Regions from separate parts of the Homo sapiens genome. Here all the other regions are linked to region 2. Evidence: promoter capture Hi-C in human tissues and cell types (Jung and others, 2019). All regions are on one chromosome and are shown on one strand. Each heading gives the region's core, a stretch centred on a gene start or on the middle of the fragment in contact. The rest is flanking DNA. Distances are from core to core; before and after follow the strand shown.

The links. Contacts are between HindIII fragments. The study calls those that stand out against the background at their distance.
Region 1: a contact is called between a fragment that was not itself captured here and the fragment with the promoter of B3GALT2 in region 2, in 1 of the 25 tissues and cell types used here (mesenchymal stem cells).
Region 3: a fragment that was not itself captured here is called in contact with the fragment with the promoter of B3GALT2 in region 2 in 2 of the 25 tissues and cell types used here (heart left ventricle and thymus).

Annotation. Positions count from the first base shown.
Region 1 is chr1:193,981,696-193,986,504 of GRCh38, reverse strand. The region is part of intron 5 of LOC124904475 (a long non-coding RNA gene); the gene reads right to left. Among named protein-coding and RNA genes, the nearest start is that of LINC01031, 680 kb to the right of the region's middle. The HindIII fragment of the contact is 4,934 bases long and covers 1-3,944 here.
Region 2 is chr1:193,184,173-193,188,956 of GRCh38, reverse strand. B3GALT2 (beta-1,3-galactosyltransferase 2) reads left to right here and starts at 2,344. Exons shown (of 2, transcript NM_003783.3): 1 at 2,344-2,938. The region is part of intron 10 of CDC73 (cell division cycle 73); the gene reads right to left. The HindIII fragment of the contact is 2,577 bases long and covers 1,396-3,972 here.
Region 3 is chr1:193,859,452-193,863,682 of GRCh38, reverse strand. All of the region lies in intron 3 of LOC124904475 (a long non-coding RNA gene), which reads right to left. Among named protein-coding and RNA genes, the nearest start is that of LINC01031, 560 kb to the right of the region's middle. The HindIII fragment of the contact is 4,838 bases long and covers 484-4,231 here.

The sequences.
Region 1 (4,809 bases), core at 228-2,727, 800 kb before region 2:
CCTATAAGTGGGAGCTAAATGATGAGAAGACATAGACACATAGAGGGGAACAGCACACACTGGGGCCTTTTGGAGGGTGGAGGAGGGAGAGAATCAGGAAAAACAACTAATGGGTACTAGGCTTAATACCTGGGGCAATGAAATAATCTCTACAACAAACCCCCATGGCGCAAGTTTACCTGTGTAACAAACCTACATTTGTACCCCTGAACTTAAACATTTTTTAAAAACCTGTTAAGTTGGAAAAAAAGACAATTGTTGTACTTTTTAAAATAATTATCTGTCAGATATTTTATAGGTCTTCAATCTTTCTTGGTCCATTGCTGAAGCTTTGTTGGTGTCTTTTGGTGTTGTTGTATTTCCCTGAGTTTTTACAATTCTTGCGTCTTTACAATAATGCTTGTGTATTTGAGAAGAAAGCTGTAAAAATTTGCATACAAACTACTAGATTGGTGAACAAAATAAGAATGAAAGAGCAATCAATATAAAATAAAAAGGTAAAATGTAAAAATTTGCATACAAATTACTAGATTGGTGAACAAAATAAGAATGAAAGAGCAATCAATATAAAATAAAAAGGTAAAATGGTATAGCTAAAGGCCAAATGTTAAGTTGCTTGGAACTCTAAAAATATTTACATCAACTAAAATAAGAAAGGGAAGGAGAAACAGAGAAATGCAGGAAAATGGTACAAATAGATAAAATAGTAAATTATGGATGACAATCCAAACTTATCAGTAATTAAATTACTAATGATATAAACACCCTAATTGAAAGACAAGGATTGTCAAAATATATGAGACACAATTATATACTGATTACTAGAGATACTTATTAAATATAAGAAAACAAACAGGATACAATTGAATGATGAGGTAAAAAAGATATACCATGTAAACAGTAAGCATAAGAAGACTGGAATGTGGATTTTCACTCTGGCAAAGATGGAGCAATTGGCATATATTTTACCTTCCCACCATACACAACAATAAAACTAAAGAACAAATATTTAAAAAAAAAAAAAAACAGACTTCAGACTTTGAACAGAGAGCACAGTACAGTGATTCATGGAATAAATTAAATAATGAAGTGACTATGATTTTCCCTAATTAATGCCTGAAGAGAGTTTCCAGGTACAGCATAAAAAGAGGAACCTCAGGTGAAACCCAGAAGTGTTCGCTGGTTATGAAGAAAGAGTTCAAGTTTTCCAGACTGCTGAAGCAAAACATTCACTATATGTCTTTCAGCACTCAGAAGAGTTGTTGTTTTCACCAACCATAGTTGGCAAAATCTATGTATAGTAGATAGCTATAGATATATGCTCTCATGAGATATATATATATATATATATATATATATATTCTTTCTATAAAGTCTCAAATAAAAATCCTATGAATGAAAAAAGGTAGCTACAAATTAGCTGCAACTAACATATTACTTTATTTTGAAAGCATATATGTTTTGCTCCTAGTGTCTGAAATAGAAAAGACCTGGGAGCTCTATGTTTGTCTGTTGGGATACTTTTAAGTCTGATATTGACTAGTTGGTGACTTATAATATGCTGTTTAAAGTTTGAAACTCCTTGGAGGCATTCAGGACTATTTGGCTACATTTTTGAAGAAATGTATGAACTGATGACTTTTACCTGGTATATCTTATCACGTAGCCTGGCTTGACTATTAGATAGAATTAAAGAGTATAGGGTTATTAAAGAAATTGCTGGAAGTTTTTGCCTGGGTTTTTTCTAAAACCCAACTTTCTCTCACACAGTCAATTATTCATAATCCAAATATAAAGCACATCCTGTTCAACAAAGAAAGGACCCTGAGGAGCTGTGCCTAGATGTGTCAATAATCACATTAAATGTAAATGGTCTAAACATCCCAATTAAAAGGTGGAGACTGTCAGACTGAATAAAAATTCAACAGCCATCTCTATGATGCTGTCTAATTGAAGCCCATATTAAATGTGCAAACATAAAGATGTTAAAAGTAAAAGGACAGAAAAAGATATACCATGCTAAAACTGGAGTTGCTATATTAATATCAGATATTGTATATTGCAAAACCAAGATAATTAATGGAAATTAGAAAAGGGCATTTTATAATTATAAAGAGGTCAACTCATCAAGAGGATATAAAATCTCAAATATTTTTTGCACTAATAATAGAGTTTAAAATACATGAAGCAAAAAGTTGTAGAACAGCAAGGAGAAATAGACTAATCCATAACTAGAGTTAGAGGTTCAATATTAAATAGAACAAACAGACACAATATTTTCAAATTGGGGAATATTTGTACCACATTATCAACCAACTGAATCTAACTGACATTTATAGAACGCCACACCAACAACAGCAGAATATTCATTCTTTTCAAGTATCAGAGAACTTTTGCCAAGGTATTCCATTTGGGAACTGAAATAAATCTCAAAAAATTTATACAGATTAAAGTCATGAAAAGTATGCTCTCTCACCACAATGGATTTAAATTAGAAGTAATATTAAAATGCTATCTGAAAGATATCTAGATATTTGGAAACTAAATACCATACTTTTAAATAATTTTTATGGCAAAGAAAAAAACACAAAGGAAATTATGAAGTATTTTAAGCTGAATAACAATGAAAAACATAGCATATGTACGTTTGTTAGTTGCCTACAAAGTAGTATTTAGAGAAAATTTTACAGAATAAAATGTCTATATTAGGAAAGAACACACATCTCAAAATCAAAAATAGTAGCTTTCACCCTAAGACACTAGAAAAAAAGCAATTTATTCCCAAAGTAAATAATAAATAATAATAATGTTAAAGCAGAAATCAATGACATAGACAAAAAAAGTGAAAAATAAATTTTAAAAATATGGTTCTTTGAGAAAATCAGAATACTTGATAATTATCTAGTCAGACTAATCAGAGGGAAAAATGAACTATTAATATCAAGAATAAGAGTTGAGACCAATACAGATTGAAATTCCACAGACATAATAAAGGATATAAGGAAACATTATGAATGTTTTGTCAGTAACTTCAACTTAGATGGAATAGACAAATACCCTAAAAAACACAAAGTACCAAAGATCATTCAAAAAGAAATAGATCACATGTGTATTGCTATATATACTATAGAAATTAAATCTAGTTAAAAGCTTCCCACAAATATAACTTAAAACCCATAGGATATACTGGTGAATTCAATCAAACTTTTAAAGAATAATAGCAATTCTATAAAGATTCTTGCAGAAAATTAAAGAGGAGCAAATAATCTTCAATTTATTCTGTGAGAACATCATAACCCTGATAACAAACACAGACAAAGGCATTAGAAGAAAAGAAAATTGGAGTTCAGAACTGTGCTTTAATGCTTGATAGAATGTAGCACATATAATGCAAAATATATTAAAAGGATAATATAATTACTAAGTAATATTTATTTCAAGACTGCAAGTTTAGTCTAACATTAAAAGATCAATTGATATTATATATCATATTAAGAAAAAAAGCCTTTGATGCAGTTCAAACATCCATTCCTAATAAAACCTCTCAGCAAACCAGAAATAGACCATAATGCCCTGAATTTAGATAAAGAACTTTTGCAACAAACCAACAGCTTATACTACACACAATGGTAAAAGACGGCATGTTTCGCCACTAAGATCAGGACTGGTCTTACCATTTCTGTTCTTCACTATACTGGAGGTGACGGCCAGTGCCAAAAAATAAAAATAAAAATAAAACAAATAAAAGATATCTGCATAGGAAAGCAGTAAAACACTCTTTATTTGCAGATGACATAATCGTATCTACCAAAGTAAAATGAAATTTAAAATATTAATAAAATTAATGTGTTTGTTTAGCAAGGCTTGAGGATACAAGACCAACACATAATAATTAATTTTATTTCTATATGCTAGCAACTAACTATTGAAACTGATAAAGTATCAATTACATAGCATCAAAAAATAAGATTCATTAAAATATAAAAAAATTTGTGAAATTAATACATTGACCACTATAAAATATTGCTGAGAATACCTAAAGATATTAAACTTTAGGTATTAAGTAAAGTATTAAGTATAAAGGTATTAACTAAAAAGAGAGATATACCTTATTCATGGGTTGGAAAATTCAATATTAGTAAAATGTCAAATTTTCCTTTATTAGTCTTTGACTCAATGCAGTACCAACCCAAAACTCAGCAAATTTTAAGAAATAAACTGACAAACTGATTCTAAAATTTATGAGGAACTGCAAAGAACCTAGAATAGACAAAGAGCCAAGAAAAAACAAAACAACTCAAGAAAAATAACAAAAACAATATTTAGTGTTTGCATTCTGATAGACAAATTGATCAAGAGACACAAACAGAGAACTGATTATTTTATGTAGTTTCTAAGATAATTCATAAAATAAAGTACAATTTTTCAACAGATGGTTGGTGCTAGAACAACTGGATATCAATATGCAACAGAAAAAAAGATAGAAATTCTGATCCATACTTTGCACCAAATACAAAAATTAGTTGAAGATGAATTTTATGTCTAAATATAACACAAACACTCTAAGATTTCTAGAAGATAATATAGTGGAAATATTCATTTTTGGAACAGGCAAGTTTACTTAGATATGACATCAAAATACAATCTTTAAAGGAACAAATTTATAAATTAGAGTTCATAAAAATGGAAACATTCTGCTCTTCAAAAGACACAATAAATTAAAAAAACAAGCAGAAGCTTGTTAAGAGAACTCTAAATACTCAACAATTAAAAAAAAAAACCCAATGTGGGGGAAAACGGACAAAAGAT
Region 2 (4,784 bases), core at 1,095-3,594:
ACAGACAGACAGAAAGAAAGAGGTTGCAGCTGTACTTTTAAAGTATGAAGTAAATTCCAGTTAAGTACATAGGCACCTTTTGTTAGTAATATTTGGAAGTTTCTTGCTGTTTAAATACTTGTCCCATAACAAGCAGTTCGGGGCGGGGGGGTCCCACTGGAAATTCAGGGACTCAATCCGATACTGGAGGGACCCACTAATGAATACGTTACCCATATAACTCTCTTAATAATCAAAATCTATAATAATCCAGGGAGACATTAAAAAAATCCAATCAAAAGAACTGGCAAAAGAATAATAATTATTTAGTCCTTTCCTGGAGAAAGGGGTAGGGAATGTCTCTAAATCAACTTTGTATCCCCTATACTTAATAAGCTATGCCTAAATGCACATGTTGGTACACAGTAGTTAATCAATATGTACCTGTTGAAAAAGTGAAAATATAAACATTCATTTATTATTCTATTAATGATTCCTGGGTATGCTGCGCCAGTGTTCAGAAAAAAAAAAAATCCCACAATTTCTCTAGCAGTGCCATGTAATAAAAAGTTTAAGAACAGAGAATAATGATAGTACTAGATAGATTTAAAAAGAAAACAAAAACACAGAGGATAAGAATTTAGATAATCTTGCTTCAATTCCCAGCTTGGCCTCTATTCTTATCAGTATTTATCTGACATTTGGACTATTTTACAACTCCAGGCACTGGTTCTGCATCTTTTAAGTGGGTATTACAATAATAAAATTATTAGAAAAGAGCCATTTGCATAACAGCTCAAGTAAGCTTAGCACGCAATCTGATTTTCAGTAAATACTCCATAAATGGTCATTGTGGCTAGCTTCATAGTCAAATCCTATGTAAAGAATCACTGATAAATAAATACTGATCTACAAAAACACATCTGTACTTCTGGAAAATAAGTTATTTTAAGTAAGTTCTTAAGCATTACTCTGTTAACTAGTAAACTAATTTTAAAAACAAAACGGTAGTGAGTGAGAATTGCAGTATGGGTGGATATAGACTACAAGGAAGTTGGGTTTTAGTCCTCTCCTTCAAACTTAACTAGGAAAAGTCAAAGCTCAGTCTAGGCTTTAGGTTTCCTATTTATAAAATTCTTTTTTTTCTTTAACGATCCTTCTAACATTTCTAATACAGTGGGGTTCTTAAAACTACAAAGCACATTTCATCAGCAAAGCTCAAAAATATGTGGACAAAATTTTTTTTAATATCAGAGAAAACAAATTCATATTCATTTGAAATAGCATATATTAATGGTGGAGGCAGTGAGATGAAGAATATGTATATAACTGTTAACCTTTAGCTTAAGCTCCAAAACTATAACTTTCTAGGACTGAATTACTGTCCCTAGAGTCACAGAGGAAAAACTGATAATAAAGGCTTTTTACTACAACAAAAAATTTAAAAAAACCTTCCCTACTGCTCTGCAGTAAGAAAAGAAGGTGCCAGCCCCAGAAACTAACCATATTAGAAAAATCTCAGTGAGTGTGTAGTGTTAATAAAATCTGCCTCATGGCAAGTTATTAAATCTTTCTGAAACATTAGAATAAGTAAACATAATTAGTAAAATCTCATTACCCCCAGATCCTGTACAAGTGTGCTATATCTATTACATCATTTTACTGAATTCTACGATACATGTAATTTTAAAGGGAAGGAAAAATAAATAAAAAATAAATGACAACATTAAAAAGTGATTTAAAATAAAGTTTTCTGCCATCAAGAACACCAAAAACCACATAAGAGCAAAAAAGAAGTGGGCTGTATCACATCATGCATTAGTAAAGTAATCCAAGACAGCTTATTTATACAAACCCCAGAAAACGGGGGGGGGGATCTAAATTACAAAGATACATGGTTTCAATAGAAACCATAGGTCTTAACTACATATTAGTAAAAAATCAAGAGCAATTTGAAAGCAGAGAAAAAAAACTTCAAGAAGAGAATGCACTGAAGGGGTTAAATTACACCAACTTACACACAAAAGCTTATACTGCTTACACCCTACAAAAGCATGTAAGAAACATGAAAACCAACATCTAACACAGAAAACACTTAGAAAGCCTGTACTTAAGAATAAAGTTAAAAAAGGAAGTAAGCTGGAAAAAATAAAATCATAACCATTTCATAATCATCACATTTTCAAATTATTCACTCATCACTACACTTGCATTCAACATATATAATTTATCACATAAAAGCAAAATCTCTAAGCTTCTCCCTACCTTAGGTTTTTAGTCAAAATGAATGCAAACAATCACGTGGGATTCAGCCAAGCAGTGACGTTAAATTCTGCTCTGTCAGAGAGAGCATCTGTCAAGCCCACATTTAAACTGCTGCCTGCCTGTGCAGCAGCTGAGGAACCGTGGATTTCATATTATAGACTAAAACCCCATTAAAACTGCTCAAAATCCTTCCTGCAGCTGCCAGGCAACAACGAAAGAAGAGAGGTAAATCCTATTCTTTTCCAATACAACTGAAGCACTACATTTTAGCTCTGGCTGCTTTACATTGCAGCTCAGTGTTATTAGTAGAAATATGGATACTGAGACGAGAACACAGCACTGCATTGTCCAGCCAGGAAAATAGCAGATGTAAAAAGCTTCAATGCATCAACTGTCGGGAAGAGTCAACAGTGCTACAAGCAGAACGGGCAACTACAGCTCTTTTGTTTAACGAAAGAGAGAAAATGAAAGAAAGGGAAAATTTCAGAAGACTAGGACCCATATGAACAAGGAGGGTAACTCGAAGACAAGCAGACAGATGGACACTTTGGATACTGTGAAAAGCAATCGCAGGAGGCAGACTGTTGGGGGATGTGCGCATGTTCGATAGCATCTTTTTTGCTGAAGTGATGGCGTGCCAAAAGTATTTTCAGTGGGCATAATCCTCTTCACATAAATGGCCTGACCAAGGAAGGTATGTCAATATCTTGTGTATGATAGTCATTTAAATGTGTTACCTTTTTATAGCCCTGGAGGCACTAATACCTGATAAGCAAGTTCATACAGCTCACTGCCCTTGAAACTATGAAAAGGTTTCTTAATATCTGATTTTAAAATTTGTCATTGTTTAGAAGACAAGCTGTCACTGCTTTATGCAGCTAAATATGTAGCTTGGAGTAATTCTGGGTAATAGACATCAGAGGGAAAAGGCAAATAAGAAGAAGATGTGTTTAAAGGATTCCTTAAGAAATTAAACTTAAAAAAAAATCTGTAGCCCTTTACAAAAAACACAGCAATATTCTATCAAATTAGGTCAAACTGAATCCTTATCTAGTAAATTAAATGCTCTCTTAAAAATGGCTATCAAAAGACACAATGCAGTGAAATTTCATTAAATAGTAGCAAGGAAAACCTTAAGAGTTTTTTTTTCAAAGTCCTTTTAAAACAAAACCTTAATATGTAACAGCTTTTAGTAACAAAATCTTCCCCAACATCTCCCTAAATGAAGATAATGAACACAACCAAAGAGAGTATCAACAAATTTTAAATATTACCAAGCTACAAGAAGATACTAAAAGGAAAGCATTAACATAAGATCACATAAGGTAGTGTGAGTTTATGCATAACCCCACAATAGAGCCTCGTGTTATTATAGTGACCATGAATAGAACTTTAAACAAAGGGACATCAATAGTGGCTTTAAAAATTAACTATTTTAAATAGCTTACATTTTATGTAAAAGACTGATTCCAAATGATCAAATTTAACGTTGTCTCTGATTATCATTTCAGAAGTGAAATTCAAAAACATAATATGGAAATACTTTGATACAAAAATATCCACAAATGGCAATACAAGGTCAAAAAATTAAATATAAATGTAGCTACTATGCTTCCAGGCTATATTAATATGCAGTAATGAACTACCGCCACTATATGTGTGTGCAGGGCACAGATAAACCAAATAAACTATTTTAGCAACAATCATAGAACAGCAACTCAGGGCTCAAGAACTTAAAGATATTTCTAAAATTCTACAAATCTATCAAAGATCCTGATTTTTCCTCAATTTCACAACACAACTCAGTAATTATCTAATAATCACAAAAGGCAAACATTTTTTAAAAATATGTAAGTACTGCATTCCAAAATGAAGATTAAACAAGTTTACCAGACTCTATTACACCTCAACATCACTCTCACCCATGAATTTTTATTCTAATAAAGACTAATAATAAATAGTACTAAAAAATATGGTTGTAAAAATTTCAAGTCCCTCTTGGTACCTTAATCTCTCAATATTGAAGTCACCAATTAAGCAGTTTTATAAGCTATACATCTCAAAACAAAAGTGTAAGTTTTTCTATTAAACCATCACCAACAGACTAAAGAGATCAACACTTTTAAAAGCCAAATGATAAAAACTGAGTGTGTACTGAACAGCATTTTACAGTAACATTCTCCCCATGAACTTCATCCACAAGCTATAAATACACATTAATAATGTGAAGATATCAAAAAAGAAGAGATAAACCAAAGCTATTTCTCTTCTAAAAATGTAAAAGTGCAGAACTATTTTGCATACTACTGAACTTTCTTGTTTTGCTCTCTCTTTTTAAGAATTAAAATACAACAGGCAATAACTGGAGAATAATTTTATCATTTAATAAAAAGCAGGCATGGTTATTTTAATTTTATATTCTTTTTAACAAAAAAATTTATAAGACCTGAGAATCTTTTAATAAGGAATTTTTTAAAGGCTAGACACATGCACTTCATTTATCAATGGGAGATTTATAGTTATATATGGATTTAATATCT
Region 3 (4,231 bases), core at 1,653-4,152, 670 kb before region 2:
CGCTTTCATGCTGCTGATAAAGACATATCCGAGACTGGGAAATTTACAAAAGAAAGAAGTTTAACTGGGCTTACAGTGCCACAGGGCTGGGGAAACATCACAATCATGGCAGAAGGCAAGGAGGAGCAAGTCCCATCTTATGTGAATGGCAGCAGGCAAAAAGAGTTTGTGCAGGGGAACTCCTCTTTTAAAAACCATCAGATTTCATGAGACTCATTCACTATCACGAGAACAGTGAAGGAAAGATCCGCCACCATAATTCAATCACTCGCCTCCATGTTCCTCTCACAACACAGGGGAATTGGGAGAGTTACAATTCAAAATGAGATTTGGGTGGGGACACAGCAAAACCATATCACTCTCTCTCTTTTGCCTTCCCTCCCTTTTTTTAGGTCATCAGTTTTTGTTAAGAAAGATAAACATATATTAATACTTCTGAAAACTGCAGTATAATTGATCTTCTTCATTGAATTAATAAACATATGTGATCTGGGTCAGTGTAACAGCCACAACTTAAAGTCCATCTCCTAGACTCTCATCCTATGGTGGCATTAGAGGCATTTTTCATATCTAGAAATATTGAAAAATATTTTCTTCTAAAGCCTGGAGATAATAGTAATTTATATGTGCACTTTCATATATAAGAGATATATACAGTGTCTTATACTTCACAATAATTATTTGTAAAATATTCACAATATTCTTTGTAAAAATTGCTATTATTTGGAGGTTTTAATTACTGAACAATTGAAACTAAGTCATAAGAGCACATTACAAAACTGAGCTTCAAGCATAGATTTTTGTATTCATTTCATAAAAACAGTTGATAGTTTACTGAGATAAGATTTTCTATTGGGTCCGTTAAAAATTGTATTTTTAAATAGAAAACATCGTCACAGATATGCACATTCATTTTCTCTCTCCTCCGTCTATTATTATTCAAGCTACCCATTTCATCTCTGACATCTCTTTCCTTGGACAAACAATATTTAATTCCTATTAATTAAGAATTCCCTCTTTTCAGAATATTTACATTTCCTATTAGTTCAGTTACACATAATGTAATTTGGTAATTTTTTTGTTGTACTTGTTTTGTTTGTTTGCAGAGGTATTTTGCCACTTCATATATATTTTTTTTAAATCTCAGTGTACAGTAAATACAACCAAATGAAAACCAATGGGAGGAAATTGTGTGTTTGTGTGTGTGTGTGTGTGTGTGTGTGTGTGACAATGAAGATTTAGACATGTCTCAAGTTTTTTTTTTTTTTTTTTTTTTTTTTTGTTTTTTTTTTTTTTTTTTGAGACGGAGTCTCGCTCTGTCGCCCAGGCTGGAGTGCAGTGGCGGGATCTCGGCTCACTGCAAGCTCCGCCTCCCGGGTTCACGCCATTCTCCTGCCTCAGCTTCCCAAGTAGCTGGGACCACAGGCGCCCGCCACTACGCCCGGCTAATTTTTTGTATTTTTAGTAGAGACGGGGTTTCACCGTTTTAGCCGGGATGGTCTCGATCTCCTGACCTCGTGATCCGCCCGCCTCGGCCTCCCAAAGTGCTGGGATTACAGGCGTGAGCCACCGCGCCCGGCCATGTCTCAAGTTTTTAACAGCTTAGTAGAAATAGCAATATTCATCTGCAAGAATCTCTTACCACTATCTCCCATCAACCATATCAAACTTCTTCTGAAGCATTTTTATTGTTGTTGTTATCGTGCTATTATTTCCTCACATGAAAAGCAACAGTCGTGCCAGGCGCGGTGGCTCACGCCTGTAATCCCAGCACTTTAGGAGGCTGAGACGGGCGGATTACGAGGTCAAGAGATTGAGACCATCCTGGCTAATACGGTGAAACCCCGTCTCTACTAAAAACTAAAAAAGATTAGCCAGGCCTGGTGGCAGGCACCTGTAGTCCCAGCCACTCGGGAGGCTGAGGCAGGAGAATGGCGTGAACCCAGGAGGCGAAGCTTGCAGTGAGCCAAAATCCTGCCACTGCACTCCAGCCTGGGCGACAGCATGAGACTCCATCTAAAAAAAAATAAAATAAAATAAAGCAAGTCATATTAAGACTCATGTCCCCTATATTAAAGATGATCCCACATCTATAATTCTATTACAGAAGTACACTGGTGTTTTTAATGCCAGTGGCTTTTAGATAATTATGTTTCTAACACAATTAAATTTATCAGCGTAACAACCCATTCAGCAAAACAGAAAAGAGGCAATATTTGCATCAATGGTGCTTTGAAATGAACATTTTCCTTCAGGGATGCACAGCCACATAGTCTCTACTCTTTTCTCTTGACAGGTTATAAATATTCTCAGAAGTAACTGTTTTGATGTTGCCTTAAAAACAGGGGGAGGGAAGGGGATGAGGAAAGAACACTGAGGCTACATGCATTTTCACATCAATTTTGCTTTCACATTTGATAGTTTATTTATATTGCTGTTATTTGCATTTCTCATGTTACTTCATACTTTAGTCTTAGCTAATGACTTTCCATGAAATGATACTTCATGGTGTTTTTTGCCGAATGAAACCTTATCTTAGTTTCTTGTTATGATAGATAAATCCAATCAACAACAACCGTATGTTAAGAACTTTTAAGTTTGTTTGTTAGAGTCAACAATTTCTGAAAGCCTCTATTCTTAGTTATACATAATACATGTCTGTAAATCAGAGAGCATTCCATAACAGAAAAGGAATTTAGAGAAATGACTATTAAATTTTACTGGGAGAAAGATAGTGGAATTGTGTTCATATTTCAATACAATTTGGAAATGTTTATATGTGATTCCGCTTCTAAATTACCTAAAGATTAAAAAAAAAATTCTGCCATAACTCATCCCTTCTCAAACTTTTCCACCCGAGATTCTAAAGATACCTTTATAGAAGCATAAATTATTTGAATTTTGTTCTATGCTCTTTAATAAATGTTGATTGCAGTCAAACTCTAATTAATATGGCAACATACTATCTTTAGTCCTGTTAAGAGATGAGTAGAATCACCTCGATCATGTGGAACAAAATAGAAGAATCAGACCTGAACTAGCAAAATTGTATTAATTTCCCTCTACAATCAGCCATACTATTTGCATTTCCAACATATTTTTACATACTTTTGTGAGAAAAAATGGTTTTGAATGAGGCTTTCCATGTCCTTTATTCTGCCCAGAAATAAATTACTGGATTCTAAAATACATTTAGTATTACCTAGAGGACTTGTGAAAACATAGATTCCTGAGCTCTACCTGCAGAATTTTTAAATCAGGAGCTCTGGAGTGAGACCCAGGAAATTGTGTTTCTAACAAGTTTCCAGGTGATGCTGCTGCTGCTGCTAATTTGAGACCACTGAATGTGAGAAAGCTTGGACTCTTCCTAAGTACACCTTGGATAATTCCCTGATTGCAGCCTACTCAATAGATAATAATTTTGATTAATCTTCATACTCTCCTTCTTTTAAAAATTTTTCAAAAAAAAACCCTGAAGAAATACGAATTGTGTCCTAATAATGTAAGAGCTGGGGATGCATAGTCTATTTATTTTTCCCCTAGTCAGAAGATCAGAATAATATGAACGGAGGAAGGCAGGAAGGGAGGAAGGGACAGACGGATGGAGGGAGGGAGGGAAAGGAGGGAGAAAGAAATAAATTAGTTTCAAGGGCTTCAAAGAGAAAGATGTCTTAAATAATAATGATAACAAAATAAATGCCCTTTGTCTGAAAGGGGGACTTAGAGGACCTCAGAACCTGTCAATTCTGGTAATTTTAAAAATTATATCTCTTGTCCTCAAATAACTTTTCTTTTAATTCTCAGCTGCCAAGATAAGGGTTCAGTTACAATAATTTGTTGATGGGCTTATTAGTAATTTCATTTGGGGGCCTCTAATTGAGTTCCTTACTCTGACTACAACAAAAAGTTTCTATAGACCTTATTTAATATGAATGCTTTGATCAATTAACAATTATGAAAGTAATCAATTTTAAATAGGACATATTTGTAAGTTTAAAACATTTCACAGGACACTTACCTAGTTATTAATCTTGTTTCTTTCATGGCAGAATAATTGAAACAAAGGTACTCTATCTACAGCAAATAATAGTCACTTGTAAATATTTCGTAATTTCATCTTAAAATACAATTTTATTTCAGGCATTATTACAAATATGTAAAAGATTCTTACAGAATCCAGTCCCTTTCTACTTGTGACTCTTCTAAACCAGAATAACTTTTCAGAACACAG